Linked DNA regions of Homo sapiens: regions 1, 2, 3 and 5 are each linked to region 4. Evidence: promoter capture Hi-C in 16 types of primary human blood cells and fetal thymus (Javierre and others, 2016). All regions are on one chromosome and are shown on one strand. The core of a region is centred on a gene start or on the middle of the fragment in contact, and the rest is flanking DNA. Distances in the headings are between cores, read along the strand shown. Region 1 has its middle 31 kb from the start of HDDC2. Region 2 overlaps LOC107986640 (a long non-coding RNA gene). Region 3 has its middle 36 kb from the start of HDDC2. Region 4 holds the start of TRMT11 (tRNA methyltransferase 11). Region 5 overlaps HDDC2 (HD domain containing 2).

Evidence for each region. Contacts are between HindIII fragments. The CHiCAGO score rates a contact against its expected background, and 5 or more counts as called.
Region 1: a fragment that was not itself captured here is called in contact with the fragment with the promoter of TRMT11 in region 4 in 3 of 17 cell types (naive B cells, total B cells and naive CD8 T cells); the score reaches 8.6 in naive B cells.
Region 2: a contact is called between a fragment that was not itself captured here and the fragment with the promoter of TRMT11 in region 4, in 1 of 17 cell types (total B cells). The highest score is 6.9, in total B cells.
Region 3: a fragment that was not itself captured here is called in contact with the fragment with the promoter of TRMT11 in region 4 in 2 of 17 cell types (naive B cells and non-activated CD4 T cells); the score reaches 5.7 in naive B cells.
Region 5: a fragment that was not itself captured here is called in contact with the fragment with the promoter of TRMT11 in region 4 in 2 of 17 cell types (naive CD8 T cells and activated CD4 T cells); the score reaches 6.7 in naive CD8 T cells.

Annotation. Positions count from the first base shown.
Region 1 is chr6:125,331,909-125,334,608 of GRCh38, reverse strand. No RefSeq gene overlaps it. Among named protein-coding and RNA genes, the nearest start is that of HDDC2, 31 kb to the right of the region's middle. The HindIII fragment of the contact is 1,193 bases long and covers 733-1,925 here.
Region 2 is chr6:125,351,968-125,354,667 of GRCh38, reverse strand. LOC107986640 (a long non-coding RNA gene) reads right to left here. Exons shown (of 3, transcript XR_001744328.3): 3 at 1-2,521. Among named protein-coding and RNA genes, the nearest start is that of HDDC2, 51 kb to the right of the region's middle. The HindIII fragment of the contact is 9,886 bases long and covers 1-2,700 here.
Region 3 is chr6:125,264,646-125,267,345 of GRCh38, reverse strand. No RefSeq gene overlaps it. Among named protein-coding and RNA genes, the nearest start is that of HDDC2, 36 kb to the left of the region's middle. The HindIII fragment of the contact is 1,857 bases long and covers 451-2,307 here.
Region 4 is chr6:125,985,122-125,987,821 of GRCh38, reverse strand. TRMT11 (tRNA methyltransferase 11) reads right to left here and starts at 1,282. Exons shown (of 13, transcript NM_001031712.3): 1 at 1,200-1,282. The coding sequence starts at 1,271. RefSeq lists enhancers at 399-1,228, 762-1,251, 1,229-2,059. The HindIII fragment of the contact is 7,229 bases long and covers 1-2,700 here.
Region 5 is chr6:125,283,522-125,286,221 of GRCh38, reverse strand. All of the region lies in intron 4 of HDDC2 (HD domain containing 2), which reads left to right. Among named protein-coding and RNA genes, the nearest start is that of HDDC2, 17 kb to the left of the region's middle. The HindIII fragment of the contact is 4,794 bases long and covers 1-2,700 here.

The sequences.
Region 1 (2,700 bases), core at 80-2,579, 650 kb after region 4:
AATTAAATCAGTATGGTACTAGTATAAAGACAAACATGTAGATCAATAGAACCAAATAGCCCAGAAAAAAACCATGTATATATAGTCAACTAGCCTTTGACGAAAGTACAAAGAATATATAACAAGGAAAAGATAATCTCTTCAACAAATGGTGCTGGGAAAACTGAATATCCACATGTAAAATAACAAAATTAGGCCGGGCGTGGTGGCTCACGCCTGTAATCCTAGCACTTTGGGAGGCCGAGACGGGCGGATCACGAGGTCAGGAGATCGAGACCATCTTGGCTAACACAGTGAAACCCCGTTTCTACTAAAAACACAAAAAATTAGCTGGGCGTGTTGGCGGGCGCCTGTAGTCCCAGCTACTTGGGAGGCTGAGGCAGGAGAATGGCATGAACCTGGGAGGCGGAGCTTGCAGTGAGCCGAGATCGCGCCACTGCACTCCAACCTGGGAGACACAGCGAGACTCCGTCTCAAAAACAAAAAAACAAAAAAAACAAAAAAACAAAAAAAACAAAATTAGATCCTTATCTTAAACCACACACAAAAATCAACTCAAAATGGATTAAAACTTAAATGTAAGACCAGGAATGATAAAACTACTAGAACAAAACATAGGAAAAGTTTCTTGACATTGGTCTTGGCAATGATTTCTTGGATATGACACCAAAAGGACAGACAGACAACAAAAAGCAAAAATAGATAAGCAGGACTACAGCGAAATCAAAAGCTTTGGCAGAGCAAAGGAAACAATCAACAGAATGAAAAGGCAATCTATAGAATAAAAGAAAATATTTACAAATCATATATCTGATAAGAGGTTAATACCCTAAATATATAAGGTACTACTGCAACTCATTGGTAAAAATAAAAAAAATCAAATAATCCAATTTACAAATGGGCAAAGGACGCTAACAGACATTTTTCCAAAGGCATACAAATGGCCAACATGTATGTGGAAAAATGCTCAATATCACTAATCATCAAGGAAATGCAACCCAAAACCATGATGAGATATCACCTCACACCTGTTAGGATGGCTATTATCCAAAAAACACAAGACAACAGTGTTGGTGAGGATGTGGAGAACTTTGAAACCCTGTACACTATTGGTGGGAATGCAAAATAGCCACCACGGAAAACAGTATGAAGGTTCCTCAATAATTTGAGAATAGAACTACCATATGATCCAGCAATCTCACTTCTGGGTATATATTCAAAAGAAATGAAGTTCGGATCTTAAGGAGATATCTGCACTACCATGTTTACTGCAACACTATTTACAATAGCCAGGATGTAGAAATAACCTAAATGTCCACTGATGGATAAAAGGATAAAGAAAGTGTGGTAGATGCATACAACGGAATATTATTCAGCATTAAAAAAGAAGGAAATGCTGAAATATGTGACAACATGGAAAAACCTGGAAGACACTATGCTAAGTGAAGTAAGTCACAGAAGGACAAATATTGCATGACTTCACTTATATAAGGCATCTAAAATAATCAAACTCACAGACGTAGAGAGTAGAACAGTGGTTGCCAGAGGCCGAGGGGAGGAAGAAATGGGGAGTTGCTAACCAATGGATATAGAGTTTCAGTTATGCAAGATGAACAACTTCTAGAGATCTGCTGTGCAACATAGTGTCTATAGTTAGTAATACTGTATTGTACACTTAGAAATCTATTAAGAGGATAGATCTGGTAAGTGTTCCTACCACAATAAAATGAAACTTTTTAAAGTTGCTATATCAGCAGATATTTTGTACTTGAGAATCTAAGTTGAACTCATTAGACACTACTCTCTGTATTTTGCAAAAATATTAACAAATACATATCTGCAAGAAAAAAATACACTTTTCCTAATTTTGCCCACTTGCAAATTCAAAAAAAAAAAAAAAAAGGTTAAACCAGTGTCAATAAGCTTTCTCAGAGCTTTAACTGAGATCTCTAAATACCGTGCCCCACTGAAAATAACCTGTTCTCCCTGGAGAAATGGCCAATTCCAAATCTGTAACAAAAAAGTATGACAAGCCTGGAACACCTTGTCATACCAGAATCAAAGTCATGTCAAAAGATACCAAAATACATCTTAAATAAGCTCCTGCTGACCAAAGATGGGACATTCTAAACATTACTAAAAATAATATCTGTAATACATCAAATATATGTATATTCGTAAGTATATGAGGTATAAAAAAACACTGATGGATAACTTCAGAGCATGTTCAGTAATCAGTTATTATTTTGAAAACTGATGAATAAACAGAAAGAGTCAAGCATTTAAAAGTCAAGCTCTTCCTATATGAATTATACATTAGTTAACCAAATAAGGGGATGTTTTCCTTTACAGAACTATTCCAGCTAAGAAATGATAAAGGAATTCTAGAGTCAGATGAAAATTATGCCAACATTAATAAAGTAATGGATCTAGGAAATAATTATTAATGGTGGCTAGCATAGTGGGAGGGTGGGGTGGATAGAAAGAGAGATTAAGACAGAAAGAGAGAGAGAGAGGGAGAACTGAAATTAAATAACATGGACATACCTATGAAGTAATCTTGCTTAAAAAATAAAACAAATCTGAATAAGCTCTAGATTTAACTATCAATCTATGAAAAATATAAGAAACATAGAAACACACACTAAACAACATTTCATGGATGAAATCAACAAAATCAAGACTGCAGGACACTCTACA
Region 2 (2,700 bases), core at 41-2,540, 630 kb after region 4:
TTGATATCCATACACAGCTGAGATCTTCTGACTGGACTATCTATCAATTGGTCTTTGACACAGTTTCAAAACAGTAATAGAACACAGCAGTAGAATATTTCATGATGATGACAGCATAGTTGGAGCATTCAAGTCACTCACTCTGAGGTTAAATTTCCAAGTGTATTTTTCTCTTAGATTTAATTTCTGGTTGAGAGAACAGTTCCAAATGTAATACAGATCTATTATATGGATATAATGGTGGAATCTGTTTTTCCTGCTTCACTACTTATTTGTCAGCTAAGAATCTTGAGCAAGACAGTTAACATCTCTGACATGATCATCTTGTTTGTAGATAGGGAGGAGTTAATGATGGTATCTCAGGGATTGGGAGAGTAGCAGTATACCTATGTATATTTAAATTATCCAAAACAAGGTAAATGTGTATGGTATGCACCATATGTAAAAATGTAAAAAGGGATAAATATAGATATTTGCTTGTATTGGAATAGAATACCTCTGGAAAAATACACAATAAATTAGTGACAGTAATTGCCTCTGTGGTGGGGACTGGGGACAGAGGTGAGAGAAAAGATTTTCATAATATGCATGCCCTTTCCTACTTCCTACTCTTCTTTCTTTTCTTCACCCATCCCTGTCTTTCTTATTGCTAGTAATGGCTAATGTAAAGCATATCACTCTTTTGCATGTATCACTCTTCTCCCTGACTCTACTGCTATGTCAGAACTGGGACTTCTACTTCACAGAAAACATAGAGATTATCTTCAGATACGTCTCAGTTTTATGATCATTGTCTTAGATATCACTTGCCTTGGCATTAGATTTTACTTTGATTTCTGCCATTTCAGAGGATAAGCTCACCTGCTCTCTTTCCTCTCTTTATTTGTATATCTGTCTCTGTCCCTCTTTTTGTACATTCTCGGTGGTATTGAAGTATCCTCATATGTTTCTTATCCTTAAAAAAACCATTCCCTAGCCTAGACCTTGTTAGCTGCCATTTTCCTTCTCTTTTCCTCTTTATAACTACATTTCTTAAAGACTTTTCTGTATTTTCCCTCTCAACTTTATCATTAATAGTCACATTTTGCCCCACTGGATTTGATTTCCTGCACTCCCCTGAAACAGTGTTCCCCAAGCTCACTAAAGGCCTCTGTTGTTATTAAACCCAATGGACGTATTTTCTATCTTTATTTGACCTCTGCCCAATACATTGTCACCAAAGTCTACTTTCTTTCCGTATTTTTCTTCTGTGACTTCCATAAAGCCTTCTTCCTTTTCCTCACCCTTGTCTGAGTGGGGAGTTTATCTTACTTGTTCTCATAAAAATCTAGGGGTACATCTAGTATGTAATCATCTATGGACATGAACACGTATTTTCTCCATTAGACTGTGATATTCTGAAGACAAGAACTGTGTCATTTCGGTTTTTGAATCCTTAGTGTCTAGGACAGTGAGTTCATCAATAAATGTTGCTTTATAGAACATTAAATGAAAGAGAAAATTTTCTTCTCTAACTTTAGTTTTAATGCTAACTGTGACAGGAACAGCTTCTTGCCTCTAATATCCTTTCTCGTTCTCTTTCTTTATAATGGAAACTTAACTGTGTTCAGCTGTGAAATTACATTTCCCGGCCTCTCTGGTTTGGCCATATGATGAGGCTCAGGGTAATGGGAGGAAAATAGAAAGTACCTCCAGAAGGCACTTTAGAAAGGAGGATCATATCTTCTTTCCTTATTGTTTCTTCCACCGTGAAGTGAATAGTTACAGCTCTATCAGCCCTCTTGTGACCTTGAGAACAGAAGGCAGAACAGCAAGAAATAAGTCTAGGTCTGTGAGATTTTTGTAGGGTTCTATGGTTTGAATGTTTGTACCCTCTCAAACTTATGTTAAATTTTAATTTCCTTTGTAACAGTATTGAAAGGTGGGAACTTTAAGAGATAATTAGACTGTGGGGGCCCTGCCCTCATGAATAGATTAATGCTGTTATTTCAGAAGTGGTTTCCAAAAGGATAAGTTTGGCTCTCTGTTCTCAATCTCTCTCTCTCTTCTCTCTTTTTTCTCTTTCTTTCTCTCTCTCTTTTTTCTTTCTCTCTCTCTCTCTCTCACTTTCCTTCTCTCTCTCCCTCTCTCCTGCCCTTTCTTTCTGTCTCCCTCCCTCTCATCCCACCCTTTGCCCTTCCTCCCTAGGATGATGTAGCAAGAAGGCCCTTGCAAGGTGCCAGCCCCTCAACCTTGTACTTCCCAGCCTCCAGAACCATGAGCCAATACATTTTTGTTCATTATAAATTACTCAGTCTGTTCTATTCTGTTACAGCAGTACAAAATGGGTTAACACAAACAGTTACCACACCAAACCTGTAAAAAATACCTCTCAACTTTTAAAAAAAAAGAGAATATGCCAGGTACTATGGCACATTCCTGTAATCCCAGCTACTCAGGAAGCTGAGGCAGGAGGATGGCTTGAACCCAAGAGTTTGCTCCACTGCCCTCCAGACTGGGGGGCAGAAAGAGGCCCTGTCTCCTGTAAAAAAAAAAAAAAGAAAAAGTAAGATAATAGACATTTAAACTGTTTAAGTCACTCTAAGTAGATCGCTATTACTAACAGCTGAACTTAATTCTAACTTATGTACATCCTAAAATAAAAGTTCTTAACATAAGTTAGCACATCTTAGTGCTAGAGAATCAAGCCTTTGTTTCTCT
Region 3 (2,700 bases), core at 130-2,629, 720 kb after region 4:
TCTGTACTCAGCATTTTCATTTAAGCAATTTGTCAGTCTTCACATTCAAAGGTGAAATGGGATGATTTCTGTGAAAGACATGATTTTGTCATTTTTGGTTTGCTTTAATTTATATATATATATAATGGATGGATATGTATTATATATATTATATATATAATGTGTGTGTACATGAATATACCCTCTGGTGTGAACTGAAAGTCAAGCAGAAATGTAGCATAAAGAATTTTACCATGCTTAGAAGTTATCAAAAGTAGCCATAAGATTTTGCCAAATATTGTTATAGTTTGAAATTACATTTGAATGCTAGGTTTGAAGAAGTTGTTTCACATTTCATATTAAGTCACTTTTCAACCTTACCACCATCTTCCTTTATCACACTACTTCCACTCAAATTGAATACTAAGTGAGAGGAGGACGATGGGGTTGATGTTGAACAACTTTAAAGCTTACACGTAATTTTGGAACAATGAACAGTGACAGAAGAGCCGTGTAGATCCCTGGGTTCCCTCTACACTGGCCACTGTGAACGGCATGGCATATCATGAAGACACATCCTAAAGCATGCACTTTGTTCTGTTTGCTATGGTTCAAGAACAGATTTCTAACAAAATGTGTAATTTAGAGTAAGATATGCAGATTGCATTGCTAAAATGACCTGCCAATAGTTGTAATCTTTTTTTGAGACAGGGTCTCATCTCTCTGTCACCCAGGCTGGAAGGCAGTGGCAAGATCTCGGCTCACTGCAGCCTCTGCCTCCCTGGTTCGAGAGATTCTCCCACCTCAGCCTCCCAAGTAGCTGGGATTACAGGGATGTGCCATCAAGCACAGCTAATTTTTGCATTTTTAGTAAAGACGGGGTTTCACCGTGTTGGCCAGGCTGGTCTCGAACTCCTGACCTCAGTTGATCCACCCACCTTGGCCTCCCAAAGTTCTGGGATTACAGGCATGAGCCACCATGCCCAGCCAATAGTTGTAATCTTTATGTGATGTGAGTTGTGAGATAAAGTAGCACTGTAAATTTACAAATATGTTCATCATAGCAACTGTGTTTAAAATGTGGTAAATCGTTAAATTTCAGAATGGCTTACTTTTTTTAAAAGCTAGTTTGTTTTGTAATCACAATTGCATCAGAATTTTTGATAATTGAAAGAATTGACGCCTGAGCCACTCGGGGATTAGGCCTGCACAGTCAAAAATCCGATTCTAGGTTGGGAGTTGTGGCTCACGCCTGTAATCCCAACACTTTGGGAGGCCAGGGCAGGTGGATCACAAGGTCAGGAGTTCAAGACCAGCCTGGCCAAGATGGTAAAATCCTGTCTCTACTAAAAATACAAAAATTAGCCAGGCGTGGTGGTAGGTGCCTGTAATCCCAGCTACTCGGGAGGCTGAGGCAGAGAATTGCTTGAACCCAGGAGGCAGAGGTTGCAGTGAGCCAAGATTGCACCACTGCACTCCAACCTGGGCAACAGGGTGAGACTCAGTCTCAAAAAAATAAATAAATAAATAAAACAAAAATCTGATTCTAACTTTGGACACCCCCTAAACCTAACTACCAACAGCTACTGTTGACCATAAGCCTTGTTGATAACATAAATGGCCAATTAACACATATTTTTATGTTATATGCATTACATGTGGTATTCTTACAATAAAGTAAGCTCTGGAAACAAAATGTTAAAAGAAAAACAACAGAGATAATATATGTACTATTCATTAAGTGGAAGCAGATGATGATAAAGGTCTTTATCCTCATTGTCTTCATGTTGAGTAGGCTGCAGAAGGGGAGAGGTTGGTATCACTGTTTCAAGGGGTGCCAGAGGCAGAAGAAAATCTGCACATAAGTGGACCCTCACAGTTCAAACTCCTGTTGTTCAAGGGTCAACTGTACATTTTCTGTGGAGGTATCCTTTCATACACACATGGTGTTGACCTGAAGTCATTTTGGTTTGTTAGTAAAAGGTTATGTCCATTGTGTGCAATTACTTTTTAGGACTTGTGAAACACTTTAAACTACTGCTTGTGAACTGAGCCTCACTAGATGTAATTGAGAAGCTCAGCAATCAGTCCCATCAGGATGATCTTGCACACCCATGGTGAGGGAGGACCAGGCAGCTCTTAGTGATGCTCCTGAAGCTAAGAGTAGGCTCACTGCCTAAACTAGGTAAGACTGCCCACCTACCAACAAGTGTTTGATTTATCTAATCTGAGTTATTCACACACATTTTATGACAAAAATAAAAAATGCTACTTATGCCATGGCCATTATGAATATCACTTCTAGGTCAGAGTGAATAATGAAAAGCTTTTAGATGAATAGAGATGATGTGCATAAGATTCTTACCAAACTAATGAAATCAGAATTTTGATGAATGGAATAAAATAAATAGCTAAAATGTGTTGGAAGCTTTAAGATATTACCACAAGTTTTCTTGATTGTTTTTCTATCCAATTCTAATATTGTGTTTTCAGATTATAAGGCTGAGACTATGGTGTGCAGAAATTGGTTGGTGAACGGAGATATTTGTTTAAAGTACCATAACTTTATCTAATACAATGCGGTGTGCTGAATATGGTAAAAAAAGAAGGTGGCAGGGAGTTTTCACAAGTTAGCCACTTCACACTCAACAGGCAGCTATAGATTGGGCACAGAGACTGAGTACTTGTGTGCTGTGGTGGGCGAGCCAGCACGGCCTGAGA
Region 4 (2,700 bases), core at 33-2,532:
ATTTAAATCTTACATCTGCCTATGTTCTCTATTTTAAATGGAGACACTCCTACCTATATACACCCCAGGAGTCATACCTGACTGGTGCCCCTTTCCCACATATTCAATCAATCCAGCCTTAATGACTGTATGGCCTAAATATTTTCCCAGTCTATCCCATCCTCTTACTCCTTGCCCTAGGTCAGACCTTCTTAATCTATTAACAAGACTATTCCCACAGACTCCTAGTCTCTGGCTCAAGTCTTATTCTTTTCAAATCCATCCTCCATAGTGTTGTCAAACTGATTTAATTTTGTGGTCACTTTTTTACTTAAGGCTTTTCAATAAATCCCCCTTCCAAGCTCCAGGGTACTCAAGGTTTTCATTTTCTGGCCTCGATCTACTTCCCTTGCTCTCTTCTTACCACTCTGCCACATAACTAGTGATCCAGTAATAATGAACACCTTGTAATTCTAATTTACTGATTTATCTCCTTGGCCCTCTAACTCCTATTCATCCTTTATTTCAAGTGTCATCTCCTCTGGAAGCCCTCTTAAAGGCCAACATCCCCAACCCCTCAGGTAGATTAGATTTCCCTTCCACGTGCTCTCATATTTCCATGTGCATCTATCACTGCACTTACCGACGCTCTTTTGTCATTCTACGCCTATGTGTCTGCTCAGCCCTTACTCTAAACAGTAAGCTCCTAGAGGGCAGAGATTGCTTACATCATCGTTACATGCCCAGCGTACCGATCTTCGACTACATGCATTCTGAAAACGTTTCTTGAATAAATAAAACACTCTTCTCAACTTCTCCATCATCTAATCCCCACCACCATCCCCTCCACTGAGCTTGATCCGCAGATTCCAATACTTCAAACACCAGCCTGAGCATTTGTTAGCTGTCTCTATTCTCCGCTAGACGAAGAGCTCCGGGAGTGAGATGACCGGTCATATTCACCTGCCTAACTCCGGTACTTGATACACGGGCAAAAGAATGAAAAGTTTAAGCAGGCCGAGGGGTTTGGTCTCGGACTTCTCTCACACACACCCTCCGCCAAGCTCACCCCGCCCGAGGACTGGGGACGCGTGACCCGCGCAGACCAGCGAAGACCCCCGAATCCCAGCTTCCTCGGGCTATGCAGATCACCTCCACCCACTCCACTCCACTCCAGCGTCCTCTTCCGTCGGAAGTTCCGGAGGGCGCTACGGACTCACCGGCAGGCGGAACTCCAGATGCTCCTGCGCCATGAGGAGCAGATACCTGTTAAGGGTACACGACAGCGCCATTGCAGCTGCCCACCGTGCGCCTGCGCGGCCCGCGCTAGGTCCCTCTTTCTCCCTCCCAAAGCCCAGTCTCCACAGAGACAGAGCCTGAAGGGCCGGAAGCGGAAGCTCTGCGAGGCAGGCGCTATCCCGACGTTTCTCGCGCTCCGAGTCCGAAACTCCGGCCGCTGTGGGAGGGGCTTCCTCACCTGTGAATGCCTGGTGGTTAGGGGTCTCCCAGCGCTGGTAGCTGGTGAGCGGGGACGCGTGGCTTTCAGGAGCAGCCTGTGATAATAAGACAGTATATTTCCAAGTTATCGTTCCACTTGGAGTGTGCTTCCAGCTTTCTCTACAGCCCTTCAAAACCTGTTCTTCAAAATTGGACTGAAATTTCACCATTTCCTTGGAAATTTCACCATTTCCTTGTAGGTTTGTCTAACCAGCACAGCTTTGGGAACTGATTTAGTTGGGCCAGTCATTTAACAGTATATTTTTCGTATTTATGTAACAACTTTTCGAGAGCACATGCCTTATAACCCAATTATAATAAACTCTTGAGGTCTGATATAATCTTTTATGGTTCACTCTATTCTTAACAAAAACCAAAAGAATATCTTCCTCAAAGTAGGCAATAATTATTAGGTTGTGTTATTTGTTAGACTCAGGACTAAATCCACAGCCAGCCATAAATTAAAACTTGGAGAAAGCTCACACTGGCACAGATTTCATAGCAGATAGTTTATGAAATATATTTTAATTGCATATTCTATGTATATATGTGACTTTTTTTTTTTAAGACAATCTTGCTCTGTCACCCAGGTGAGTGCAGTGGCGCAATCATAGCTCACTGTAACCTTGAACTCCTGGTCTCAGGGGATACTCCTACCCTAGTCTCCCAAAGTGCTAGAATTACGGGCTCAAGCCCTCCCTCTGGGCTATTTCTGCTTTTGAGAGTACCGAGCCCTTTGCCCTATTAAAAATTATTTATTTTGCATTTCTCTGTGGTATTGTACAAGGTGCAAAAGAGTATGTATCTGGCATATCCCCAGCGGCATGTGCCAGAAACGTAGTTGATGCGCAGTGGTAGTGATTAAGAACATAGGCTGTGGTGTCAATATTAGATTCAAACCTCACTTCCACCATTTACCATGTATATGCTCTTAACCTCTCCGAGCTTGAGTTTTCTTTTAAAAATGGAAAAACACACTGCCTCCTGCAAAGGATTGTTACAAGGATTAAGTGGAATAATGTTCATAAAGTGTTGAATATAACATCTGGCATATTGAATGGGGCCAATAAGTGGCACTTGACATTTTTCTTAAGAAAATCACATGAGAATTTTTGTTAGCAAGAGATCTGTTTTTGTTAGGAATATGTCTCAAGTTCACTTGTGCTAAGTGACTCTGAGAAGCATAGCTGTCTCTTGACCCCAAAACTTCAGAAAAGGGGGTAA
Region 5 (2,700 bases), core at 160-2,659, 700 kb after region 4:
TTATCACCAGTCCTTATGTCAGTTTCTCAACAGTTTTGTTTTTCTGAGACTTGTTGCCTAGTAGGTTCCTCATGAATGCCTCACAGAACAGTATTCCTTCTTCTTGCATGTTATTAATAGTTTCTCTGTGTTCTTTATACTTGAAAGTCAGTTTCACTGCATGTAAAATCCTTGTTCCCAGTTTCTTTTCTTGAATATCTTAAATCAGATTATTTATATCAAAATGGAACAGATTTAAGATTTAAGGTCCCGGGATCCTTATATTGCTCTACATCAAGCCCCAACTGTACTTTGAGGGACAGATGGGGAGAGACATTTTTAAAAGGGTACTTGTTAAGCCAACTGTATCTCCAGTTGACTGAACTTCTGACAATGTGGAGAAGCTGTTGAAGTCTGATCATAATTTTATTTTCCTTAAATGCCAGATACTCTTTTTACGTGGGTGTCCAAAGGATTTTTTTTCTTTTAAGTCTGGTAATTTTATTAGAATGTATCTTCATGTTGCTTATTCTGGGTTAATATCCTTAGGTATTTAGCATGAATTTTCAATATATACTCTGAATTTTTTTTTTAATTTAATTTTAAGGTTTTCTTGAGGTATAGTTTTCCTTTTGCTTTGCTATTCTTTTTTCTGGGACTCTTCTGTATCTGTATGTTGGTTCTTCTTTGCCTGTCTTCACTATTTGTCACCTTATCTCAAACTCTTTATATCATCTTCATTTCTGCTCAACTTTTAAACTTTCCATTTCTATTTCTCTTAAGGCATTATTTATCATATTTAATTACCCTTGTGTTCCTTGTGTACCCTTGCGTTCCTTATTGCTTAGTTTCTAAAACAACCTTTTATCTTACATTTCACTGTTCTTATATTGTTCTTCTATGTCTTATATCATTTTCTTTTCTTTTTTTTTATACTTTAAGTTCTGGGATACATGTGCAGAACGTGCAGGTTTGTTACCTAGGTATACATGTGGCATGGTGGTTTGCTGCACCCATCAACCTGTCATCTACATTAGGTATTTCTCCTAATGCTATCCCTCCCCTTGCCCCCCACCCCCCGACAGGCCCCAGTGTGTGATGTTCCCCTCCCTGTGCCCGTATGTTCTCATTGTTCCACTCCCACTTATGAGTGAGAACATATGGTGGTTGGTTTTCTGTTCCTGTGTTAGTTTGCTGAGAATGATGGTTTCCAGCTTCATCCATGTCCCTGCAAAGTATATGAACTCATTCTTTTTTATGCGTTCATAGTATTCCATGGTGTATATGTACCACATTTTCTTTTTCCAGTCTAACATTGATGGGCATTTGGGTTGGTTCCAAGTCTTTGCTATAGTGAATAGTGCCCCATTAAACATACGTGTGCATGTGTCTTTATAGCAGAATGATTTATAATCCTTTGGGTGTATACCCGGTAATGGGATTGCTGGGTCAAATGGTATTTCTAGTTCTAGATCCTTGAGGAATCGTCACATTGTCTTCCACAGTGGTTGAACTAATTTGCACTCCCACCAACAGTGTAGAAGCATTCCTATTTCTCCACATCCTCTCCAGCATCTGTTGTTTCCTGACTTTTTAATGATTGCCATTCTAACTGGCGTGAGATGGTATCTCATTGTGGTTTTCATTTGCATTTCTCTAATGACCAGTGATAATGAGCTTTTTTTCATATGTTTGTTGGTCACATAAATGTCTTCTTTTGAAAAGTGTCTGTTCATATCCTTTGCCCACTTTTTGATGGGGTTATTTGTTTTTTTCTTGTAAATTTGGTAAAGTTCCTGGTAGATTCTGGATATTAGCCCTTTGTCAGATGGATAGATTGCAGAAATTTTCTCCCATTCTGTAGGTTGCCTGTTCACTCTGATGATAGTTTCTTTTGCTGTGCAGAAGCTCTTTAGTTTAATTAGATCCCATTTGTCAATTTTGGCTTTTGTTGCAATTGCTTTTGGTATTTTAGTCATGAAGTCTTTGCCTATGCTTATGTCCTGAATGGTATTGCCTAGGTTTTCTTCTAGGGTTTTTATGGTTTTAGGTCTTACGTTTAAATCTTTAATCCATCTTGAGTTAATTTTTGTATAAGGTGTAAGGAAAGGGTCCAGTTTCAGTTTTCTGCATATGACTAGCCAGTTTTCCCATTTATTAAATAGGGAATCCTTTCCCCATTTCTTGTTTTTTGTCAGGTTTGTCAAAGATCAGATGGTTGTAAGTGTGTGTGTTGTTATTTCTGAGGCCTCTGTTCTCTTCCATTGGTCTATATATCTGTTTTGGTACCAGTACCATGCTGTTTTGGTTACTATAGAATTGTAGTATAGTTTGAAGTCAGGTAGTGTGATGCCTTCAGTTTTGTTCTTTTTGGTTAGGATTGTGTTGGCTATGTGGGCTCTTTTTTGGTTCCATATGAAATTTAAAGTAGTTTTTTTCTAATTCTGTGGAGAAAGTCAGTGGTAGCTTAATAGGAATAGCATTGAATATATAAATTACTTTGGGCAGTATGGCCATTTTCACGATATTGATTCTTCCTATCTATGAGCATGGAATGTTTTTCCATTTGTTTGTGTCCTCTTATTTCCTTGAGCAGTGGTTTGTAGTTCTCCTTGAAGAGGTCCTTCACATTCCTTGTAAGTTATATTCCTAGGTATTTTATTCTCTTTCTAGCAATTGTAAATGAGAGTTTGCTCATGATTTGGCTTTCTGTTTGTCTAT